2 separate regions of the Homo sapiens genome follow, and region 2 is linked to region 1. The links are contacts of gene promoters, found by promoter capture Hi-C in blood cells and fetal thymus (Javierre and others, 2016). All regions are on one chromosome and are shown on one strand. Each heading gives the region's core, a stretch centred on a gene start or on the middle of the fragment in contact. The rest is flanking DNA. Distances are from core to core; before and after follow the strand shown.

What was found. Contacts are between HindIII fragments. The CHiCAGO score rates a contact against its expected background, and 5 or more counts as called.
Region 2: a fragment that was not itself captured here is called in contact with the fragment with the promoter of CLEC18B in region 1 in 1 of 17 cell types (naive CD8 T cells); the score reaches 6.5 in naive CD8 T cells.

What each region holds. Positions count from the first base shown.
Region 1 is chr16:74,418,735-74,423,735 of GRCh38, forward strand. CLEC18B (C-type lectin domain family 18 member B) reads right to left here and starts at 2,744. Exons shown (of 12, transcript NM_001385193.1): 1 at 2,413-2,744; 2 at 1,767-1,858. The coding sequence starts at 2,536. It overlaps LOC107984827 (a long non-coding RNA gene), which reads left to right and starts at 3,386. Exons shown (of 3, transcript XR_001752253.3): 1 at 3,386-3,708. The HindIII fragment of the contact is 28,054 bases long and covers 1-5,001 here.
Region 2 is chr16:72,124,409-72,129,409 of GRCh38, forward strand. PMFBP1 (polyamine modulated factor 1 binding protein 1) reads right to left here. Exons shown (of 21, transcript NM_031293.3): 13 at 4,658-4,825; 14 at 4,249-4,386; 15 at 1,560-1,724; 16 at 830-997; 17 at 359-526. Among named protein-coding and RNA genes, the nearest start is that of DHX38, 33 kb to the left of the region's middle. RefSeq lists enhancers at 424-533, 544-603, 1,148-1,649, 3,986-4,786. The HindIII fragment of the contact is 2,202 bases long and covers 955-3,156 here.

The sequences.
Region 1 (5,001 bases), core at 1,494-3,993:
GCCCCCAGGAGCCTGGCCTCATATGCTCCCCACCACGCACAGCTGACCCCGCCCCCTCCCTCTTCTTTTTTTTTTTTGAGACAGAGTCTCACCCTGTCGCCCAGGCTGGAGTGCAGTGGAGAAATCCCGGCTTACTGCAACCTCCGCCTCCCAGGTTCAAGCAATTCTCCTGCCTCAGCCTCCCAAGCAGCTGGGATTACAGCCATGTGACACCACACCTGGCTAATTTTTGTATTTTTAGTAGAGACGGGGTTTCACCATGTTGGCCATTGCTGGTGTCAAACTGCTGACCTTAGGTGATCTGCTTGTGTCAGCCTCCCAGAGTGCTGGGATTACAGGTGTGAGCCACCGTGCCCAGCCCCCTCCCTCTTCTTAAACAAGGGGCCTGGCAATCACCACCCCTGGGTGACTTGGTGCAGTCCCCTGATCTCCCGAGACTCCCTGAGCTCATCTGTAAACGGAGCAGGGAGGTGCCTGCAGGATAGGACTCACAAGCACAGAGTGGATGCAGGGAGGGGGGCCCCTCGGGGCTGCACCCCAAGCCAACTTCATCCTGCACTAATGTCCATCGGGGTTTTACCTCTGATGAAGGCTGGGGCCAGGAGCTGGGGGCTCCCCGGGGTCCCTCAGCAGCCCTCCACCCCCACAAGACCTTCAGTCTCCACTGTGTCCAAAGAAGGGGTGCCCTGGAGCCCTAGAGGCCCGGAGGGTGCTCGGGGCCGGGCCACGAGGGAGGCTGAGCCATGGAGCTCCATTTGCACCTTTATGGAAATGAAGTTTTCTAAGACTTTGACAAAAGGGCCCTGGAAAGGGTGCCAGCTGCCAGCCAACGACCACCGCAGCCCCTCCTGGGGTCCCAGGCAGGAGTACCCAACCACGGAGGTCACAGCTGGGAGCACCCCTGGTTGCCCAGGGTCTGAGCCTGAGGAGAGGCAGAGCCACTCAGGGCTGGGAATGGGGGAGAAGCGACCCCCCGCATTTAGCCACCCCACCCCCACCTCCTGGGAAACTGACCCTAGAGTGTTCAAGGTCGCCACTGTGGCCACCTGCCTTGGAGGAGTTCATGGGAAGCAGCCATGGGGAACCCTCCCGCCCCCACCACCCTGCCCTGGCTCCCTGGCCTGCTAACATGGGCTGGGGCTGCTGGGGTCCCAGACAATGGAGGGCAGCGTTTCTGAGCCTCCAGATGACAGTCCCAACCCCGCAGCCCCAGCCGGGCTGGTGGGGAACTCTATACCCCCGACCCCTGGCCCCTGCTGAAAATGTGGAAAATGTGGACGAGTGAGTGAGCAGAGAACATGGGCAAGGCCCGTCCTAGTGGCTCAGATAAGCTCAGGAGGAGGCGCTGGGTCCTTGCCGCACAGAAGCCCCTCCCCAGCCCAGCACGACCTTCTCCCTCCCTGGCCCGGCCGCCCATCCTGCAGGGCTCCTCGTGAAGCTCCCCTTCCCTGGAGGAGGGGATCCGGCTCCTCCTGTGGCTCCTGGTCTCTGTGGCAACAAGATGCCAGGGAAGGCCCAAGGTCCTGCCCTTCAGGCGAGTGGGAGCCAAGGGGCCCGACCTCCTGAACTGAGGGTGGGGGGTTAAGAAACTGCAGAGACCCCCAGCAACCAGGGCCTCCGTCCCTCAGGGGCAAGGTGGCTGGCTGTGCCTGCCCACCCTGGTCAAGTGGAAGGGCACCTGGACAGGCGTGGCCTCCTGAGCCGCCCTCTGGGGTCCGCGCCTCCGGCCACCCCCCTGGCAGAGCCCAGCTGGGTCGGGTACTCACCAGCCTCCGCATGTCAGCCGCAGGGGGCTGGACCCAGCTGCGCAGGCGGTTGTGCAGGGAGAGGAGCAAGAAACTCTCCTTCCTGTTCAGGGCTGGGGTGGGGAGAGAAGGTCAGGCAGCCCGAGGATGGGGGGACCTGAACCCAACACACGGCAGAATAAGCATGTGTCCCTGCCCTTGGAAAACAAGATGGGAGAGGAGTGTGGTGGGTGCAGGGGACGTGGGGCATAGCAATGGAGCGAGGCTGAGAGAGAGACCAGGTACAGCAGGCGTGGGCTGAGTGCTGGGGTTGGGGTGGCGGGAGGGAACAGCGGTGCGGGCTGGGTGTAGGGGCCAGCCCTGGCTCCCGCAGGCCCCTGTCTGGGGCTCCTCCGGGCCACGGATTTCTCCAGGCCCCAGCCACAGCGCTCCTCGGCGTTCCTCCTTGACCCCAGCCCTGGTCCTCCTTCCTCCTCCTTCCTCCTCCTTCCTCCCCAGTCCAGCATCCACCCCTCACCGCCCCCGGGCTGTCCCAGGGCTTCCTCATTAAACCACCCGCACGGCCTGGGGCTCAGGCCTGGGACCGGGCTTCCAGAAGTCTCCTAGCACCCACTCCTCAGAGCTCATAATGGTGCCTCCACCTACCTCCTCACCAGGTGTCCCTTACCTCCGGCCATCGGAGCCTGCTCCTGCAGCTGGGGTGGCCACACCTCTGCCCAGGTGGTGCCAAGGAGGGCCAGGAGCACAGCCAGGAGATGCCCCCGGCCAGGGGAGGTCTCTGGATGCAGCATGGGTCTGTTGGGCCCGTCAGGCGCTCCGTGCACAGCCTGGCTCAGCCACCCGGCTTGTTTCTCAGGCTGGATGGAGCTATTCACAATCTCCAGGAGTCAGGCTGGGCTGGTGGACAAAAGAGGGGGGCTGGTGAACAAAAGAAGGAGGCTGGTGAGTGAGTAATCAGTGTGTCCAGACAGCCTCCTGTTGGCGCTGGCATGAAAAGAGACAACTCCCGGGGATGCCTGCCTGCTCCGGCCTCGGCCTGGCCAGCCCGCCCCCGACAGCAGGCAGAGTGGCGTGCACTGCCCCGCGGCCCCTGCTAATCATTGTGGGATTATTAGCACCCTTGGGGAGCCCCCAGAGACCCCGCTGATTGGCCTGGGGACATTCCGGTGCTGCAGATTAGTGACCGATGGCCGTGTCCTGGCTGGGACAGTGTCCTCCGAGCCCACTGATGGCTTCCGCTCCCCAGCCCCGGGCCCTGGGAGGAGGACCTCGGCTATGGTCCTTCTGGTGAGCAGGAACTGGGCAAGACCCCAGGGGAGTTCTTTCCTTTCTTGGGAAGCTCGTCCCAACCCCCCAGCCATGAATTAAACATAGGCAAGAGGTAACCGCACACCAGAGGGGTGCAATCTGTGGGCTCAAAGGGGGGTGGGCTGAGGCCGCACCTGCACGAGGAAAAGGGTGCCTTAGGAAAGTCTGTCTGGGCAGGGTCGGGGGCTGGGCCCAGCCCCGGTGCCCACCACCCTCACCCACGTGACTACAGGCCAGGGGGGGAGTGAGGCAGGAGGAGTCAAAGCAGGCGGGGACCAGAGCACGTGATGCCCTGGGCTGACTCCAGTCCTGCTGGGATCACGTCCGCCTCTAGAAAAACAGGCGGCGTAGCAGGTGGGCAGCACGTTGCCATGATGTGCCGTGGCCCGGCCGTGGCTGGCGTGATCCCACCAGAGTGAGCTGGAGCAGATCTGCACCATGGGCCAAGTTTCTCAGAAAATACATGGCTTCCTGCGGGCTGCAGCCTAATGCCCACGTTCCTCTCGGGGCAGACCGAAGGTTATTCAACCAGGGCAAAGGACAGCCTTGCAAACCAACTACGTCCTCCTTCTGGAGTTTGTGTGACCCCTGGCCCCTGAGCCCACACCCTCTCGGAGCGGGGTTCCAACTCCGTGGAAGCTCTGCTGAGATGCAGGTAGGGTTGGCTTTCCTGGGGAAACACCAGTGGAATGTGGCTATCGTCATGGGTGCCAGGGATGGGGATGAGGCCAGGCATACAGGCCATGAAGGCGGTCTGGAACTGCATGTCCCCCACAATACCTAGGGGCTCAGGAGTTTCTTCTCCCTCAAACAGAAACCCAGCACCCTCAGGGTCACTGCGTGTGGGTCCTAGCAATGCTTAATAGCTACCTGTTTTTTGATGTATTTTTATTTTTATTTTTTAGACAGTTTCATTCTGCCACTCAGGTTGGAGTGTTATAATCTCAGCTCACTGCAGCCTTGACCTCTTGGGCCCAAGTGATCCTTCCACCTCAGCCTCCCAAGTAGCTGGGACCAGGTGTGTGCCACCATGCCTGGCTAATTATTATTATTTTTTTTGGTAGAGACAGGATTTCATCGTCTTGCCCAGGCTGGTCTCCAACTCCTGGGCTCAAGGGATCTTCCCACCTTGGCCTCCCAAAGTGCTGGGGTTGCAGGCATGAGCCACCACACCTGGCCGAGCCACCTGTGTTTATGGAGCTCACAAAGCCTGTTTGCATGTGTGAGTTCAAGTTATTGCCACAAGAACCTGGTGCAGTAGCAGATGGGATGCCCGTCGTGTAGATGAGGAAACGGGCTTAGTGTGTCTAAGGGGCTTGTCCAAGGTCACTCAGCGAGTGCATGGAGCATCCCAGCTAATCCAAGGTCTCTGCCTTCCCATTCCCAACGCTTTAATTCACATCCTGATCTTTCCCAGTGCAGTTTCCACAGCTCTGCTATGCCGGGTGATAAAAGACCCACTTCCTACAATTGGGCTTCCATGGCAAACACGGCCAGTTGACCCATATAGTATGATGCCAGGCACTTGGGACAGGCGGGAGAAAAAGATATTTTGGGGATTAGGGTGGAGCAACTTTTGAAGGGTCCCATGGCCCTGGCTCACTGCAAGAAGAGTCCCAGGCCGGGTGTGATGGCTCATGCCTGTAATCCCAGAACTCTGGGAGGCCAAGGCAGGCGGATCACTTGAGGTCAGGAGCTTGAGACCAGCCTGGCCAACATGGTGAAATCCTGTCTCTACTAAAAATACAAAAATTAGCTGGGCAGGGTGGTGGGTGCCTGTAGTCCCAGCTACTCGGTAGGCTGAGGCAGGAGAATTGCTTGAATCTGGGAGGCGGAGGTTGCAGTGAAGCAAGATGGCACCATTGCACTCCATCCTGGGCAACAGAGCGAGACTCTGTCCCACCCCCGACCCCTCAAAAAAAAAAAAAAAGAGTCCCAGGAGAGCAAG
Region 2 (5,001 bases), core at 806-3,305, 2.3 Mb before region 1:
GGGACAAGCCCAGAAGGTCACTTAGTCCATTCTACTGTAGGGTCCAGGGCTGCCAAAAGTGTCAGGATGTACTCTGGAAGGGGACCCAGTGGACTAGGTCAGGGGTAGCTGGTGTACCTGACAGTCTCTTCTCTAGAATGGGGCCTTCGCTCTGCTCAGTATCTATCAACAAAGCCACAAGAACACAGGTGGGTTGAACCAGCAGCTGTGGCTCTTGCTTTGTGCTAAATGGAGGGGGTGACCTTTCCTTTGCTCCCAGGCTCTCCCACCCCCACCAAGGGCTGTCTGGCATTTGGGTGGTCATAGGATGTGCCTGGAGGCACTGAGAGGAGGCACGCAGAAGCCAAGGCATGCCCACCTCCTTATCGTCCTCAAGGAGGTTCTCTTTTAAGGCGGCCATCTCCTCCTGGAACTCCCTGAGCTGCTCCTCTTTGGCTGCCAGCATCTTGAGGTCATTCTGGTGTTGCTTCTGCCACTGCAGCACCTGGCAGCTCATCTCCTCTAGCTTCTTGTCAAAGGCGTGCACCTACTCAGGAGAGCAAAGTGAGGAGGGGGACTCCAGCTGGCCTCCCTGACCGCAGGACCCACAAGGCCAGAGGGTGCTTCCTGGGCCTTGGGATACGTGTTGGGGGTATTTTCTTCTCAGTGGCCAGCAGAGGGCACCCATGCTCCGATCTTTGCTGCCTCTGTCTGAAGTTCAGGGAGCCAAGAAAGTGGAGGGAACCTAGCAGCCCAAGGGAATGACTTAGTGCTAAATAATTCTGGATGCAAGAGGTGACCTTGTGGACCCCTACCAGGAAGGCAGCCCAAGCCCCTGGCAGCTCCTCACCTCCAGCTCACTCTCCTGGTGGAAGCCCCGCAGTTTTCTTAATTCCGTATTGAGCTTTTTCATCCTTTCCTCATAAGCAATGATTTCCTCTTCCAGCTGAGCTTTCTTCTCTTGGGTCTGTGTCAAGCTTTGCTGCAGGCTCTTTGTCTCTGAGGTCACGTGATTGAGCTTCCGGAAAAGACAAAGAGGACGAATGGCTGTCAGAGACTTTGACCCTCTCTGCTGAGTCCTGAATGGAGGAGGGTTCCAGTCCCTTCCTGTCCTCTGCCCAGGGTGACACGGACGGTCACCTTGCCTAGTCTCCCAGAGAGGGGTGGGAAATGACAGTGGTTGGTTTTCTGCACCCTGCTTTCTCCTTCCTACCCACTCCCTCCATTTCTTCTCTTTCCAATCCCATGAATTGATGGGCCAGCCATGATCAGCACAGGATGGGGCATGAATTTCCCTGACAATCCAGACTTTGGGAAAACCTTGCCCCCGAGTCACCCATGGGCAGAAAGGCTTGCTAGATTTGGTTTTGATCTTTGTCCTCTTCCTCCGCCCTCCACCCAACTCCAAGCCTCACAAAGAGGAAGCAGGCCTTCTCTGCACAGACATCCCAGCCCACACAAGGGTTTGAGATGGCCCCATTGACAGTCAATAGGCAGGAAATTGGCTCCTGTGCTTCTCCCGCTACCTTGACGTTTCCTTGCCTGAAAACAGCCCTGGAGACTAGAGGGTGTGGCCTCACCTTCTCGAGGGCTTGTGTCAGGTCATCCTGGCAGGCGGCTGACTTCCGGGATAATGCATCATAGGCTTCTTTGGTGATGGTAGTCTGGAGATAGTGCTTCTCCTTCTGCAGAGCTTTGTCCAGCTGGGCCTGCAGGCTCATTAAGGACTCCTTCTGAAGGGCTATCTTTAAGGAGGGAGAGCAGAACTGTCAGGGTGCCAGGTCAGGGTCATAGAGGCATTCTCTGTGCCTATAGGAAATGAACAAGAGCCAAGCTCTCTCCTGTCTGCAGCAACCTGCAGAGTCCGTGTTAACACTCACATCTTCACTTCACCACTGTAAAAGGTAGAGCTGTCTTTCCAGGCTCTTTTGCACCCCTCAGCCACATCTCTCTTTCTAGTTAGCATTTCCCTCAAACAGCAGGAGTACCAGCGGTGCTGGGGCATGATATGCCAAGTACACAAAAAAGTCCCTTTCACATACTCTGCAGCCTTTGATAAAGACCTGGAATCCGATTTGAGGTTAGTGGACATGATAACAACATGTCCTTTGTGTTTTATGCCTCACTTAGTTCCTGATGTAATTCACTAGACTTGATGTGCCAGAAAGCAGGACTGTGCCTGTGTTTTGTTTCCTGCTGTTTCCCCATTGCTGTAACTCAGGGCATGGCACATGACAGAGTTTCAGGAAATGCTCAAAAATGGTCTTTGTTCTGTCACGTGAAATATTGCATTTTTGGAGTTAGGGATCAATTGATCAACATGTTAGGGAACATGTAGTTCTGGTAGAAGTGTGTTTAAAAACTGAAGTCTGTTTTCAACATCGTAATGAGTATTCATGGTATAGTTAAAAGGAAGTTGGGATCTGGAGTCAGAAAAATCTGGGTTGAGGTCCAGGTTCTATCATTTACTTATTTCTCTAGCCTCAGTTTCTGCTTCCACAAATTGAAATCATTTTAACTGTTTCGTGGAGTTTTTATGATGATCAAATGAGGTGATATGTGTAAAAAGGGCTTTGTTTTACTATACGACTATGAGTTACTGTCACAGACACACACAGAAACTAGCCTTCTTATATACTTTAAGTACAGGACAGAGATCTGCTTCTGAGTCTGGAAGCCAGAGGGAGACCTCAGAAATTCATATGCCTGACTTGTATTCTTTGGTATTCTAGCACACCTGCATCTGAAAGTGGCCATGCACACAGAAACACATTCTTTTGGGTTTTCTTGTTTTATCTCCAGTAACTGATCAGTGCTTCAAGTTTATTACTTTTTCAGATACAATTTTGAGTACCTCTGGCCCTGGGAATTAGTGAGATGAAAAGTGGTAAATTGGACTTCTGACACCATATTTTACATGCCCTGGTGGTGAAACTATTCCTAAAGATGAAATAATTTGGTCTTCTGAAAACAGAAGTGCATCTTTTCTGGGGACTTCTGAAAAACATGGAGTCAGCAGGGTCTGCCCAGTAAACCAGAGGAATCACTGGAGAAACTATAATTCACTGTCAATGCTTGATAAATGATGGCTGAACTGAGAAATGTCAGTATAGAGGTAAGACACTAAAACTGAGGATGGTGAAAAAAAATTACAGTGAAGCTAGAAGCTAAAATGGAAGCTTTAAAAATTTTTGCTAACATGAGTGGTTTAGCTTGGAGAAAGATTCTAAAAATCTACATATAGAAGTATGTAAATTATAGAACCAAGAAGTTCTAGTAAAAGTTCTAATAAAAGACCTACTCTCTCTGCTGTCAATGGTATTAGGTCTAGATGGTTTTATAGGTGAATTTCATGAAGTCATCATTGATTCCTCACTTTCTCTCACATTCATTCCATCAGCTCAGACATACAACTTTTCCATCATCACAGAAAGGCAGCAAGTTCTACTGGGCAGTGCTATTTTTATACTTAGAAAAGTCATACTACTTTAAGATTTATTTTTATATTATGAGGGAATAAGGGCTGCTTGGCCTTTCATTTGTAGCCCAAGAGACCAACTACCAAGGTGTTATATTTTTCTCTTGCCCAGAAAGATGGAATGGATTTAGCTGGAGAAAGTATGGCTGCTTATGATGAGGGAGAAAGGGAACAGGTGTTAGAGCTGGATAATTCAGGTTCAAATAGTGGTTGATTCCATCACTTGCTGGTCAGTGACTTTGGCCCTCCATCTTTCTTTCCTCTATCATGTCTTTCTTTTTGGCAGTAAAGCAGATGGAAGCCATGTAAAGAGCTTAAGTGGACGACAAATAAATGACGACTGAATTCAAGCACAGTGCTTAGCATATGTCAGATGCTATTTACTCCTTTCTGTCATTTTTACTTGTGTAATGAAAAATAACTGTCCCCCCTTTCATCTCCTTTTTGTGCTTTGTGACAAGTTTTGGAAGTGTTCCCTAGCAAATTGCCCCCCAAAATGGATTCACTCAACTCTGGTCTAAAATGTAACATTGGAAGACTTGATGCCAAAGCCCAAATAGCTTGGGGCTCCACCAGATATGAGATGAGACCTTCCACATATGGAAGAAACATTTCTCTGGCTCAGCAACCAGGTGCCAATGGGGAGGGAAGTAGAGCTGTAGGTGGCCCAGGATCCGCAGTTGGCTGAGCAGTTAGCTGCATTTCTGTGTGGAGGAGAGGTGGGTACAGATTTCAGGTCAAGGGTCACAGGGTTCAAATTCCTCACTCCCTTGGGGTTCCTGTCTACTCACCTCTTTATTCAAGTCTTGGATGACTTGCTGGCTGGTGTTGTATTTGTTGAGAGAGGATTCCAGTTGTGTAGAACAACACTGTAGCTCTGCTCGGAGATTCTCATTTTCTTCCTCCAACTTTCTGGAATTCTCTTTCAACTGTTCCCTCATTAAAGAACAAAGCACAGCAAAGAGGTGTTAATCTCAGATAACTATAAAAGCCCCACTCCACCCTCCCTCTCACCCAGCTCTATCTCCACCCTGCGGGAGCTCAGGCATTCTCGCTCCCCTCCTCGCTGGCCTTTCCCACTGTCCCTCCCGTCTTTCCTAAGCTCTGAGCATCCAGGGCCTCCGCATCCCTGGAGGCCCAGGTGGGGTCATGTCCCGCTCTGGATTCCTGACCCAGCTCTCCTGGGATTCTCCCACTCACCGTCTTGTCTTTCTTTTTAAATTCCTGCCGCAAAGCTTCAAGTTCTCCCTCCATCAGCTTCTCATGCTCTTTGCTCTTCTTCAACTGCTCCCGTTTGTCCTCCAGAAGCTTTGTGGCCTCCTGAAGATCTTCTTCTAACTTGCATTTGATGGAGCCTTGCTCCCTGTGCTGAAAAAATAAAGACTGAGCTGAAAGACTGTCTTAGACTATATTATATTTGGGGGAAAAATACAGACAATTGCACACAGGGCATGGCTGAGATGAAGAAGAAGACAATTCCTTAGTTATATAGCATATGTAAAATAAAAGGTTTCCTCCAACGCCTGTAACATTTTTTCTTTGTT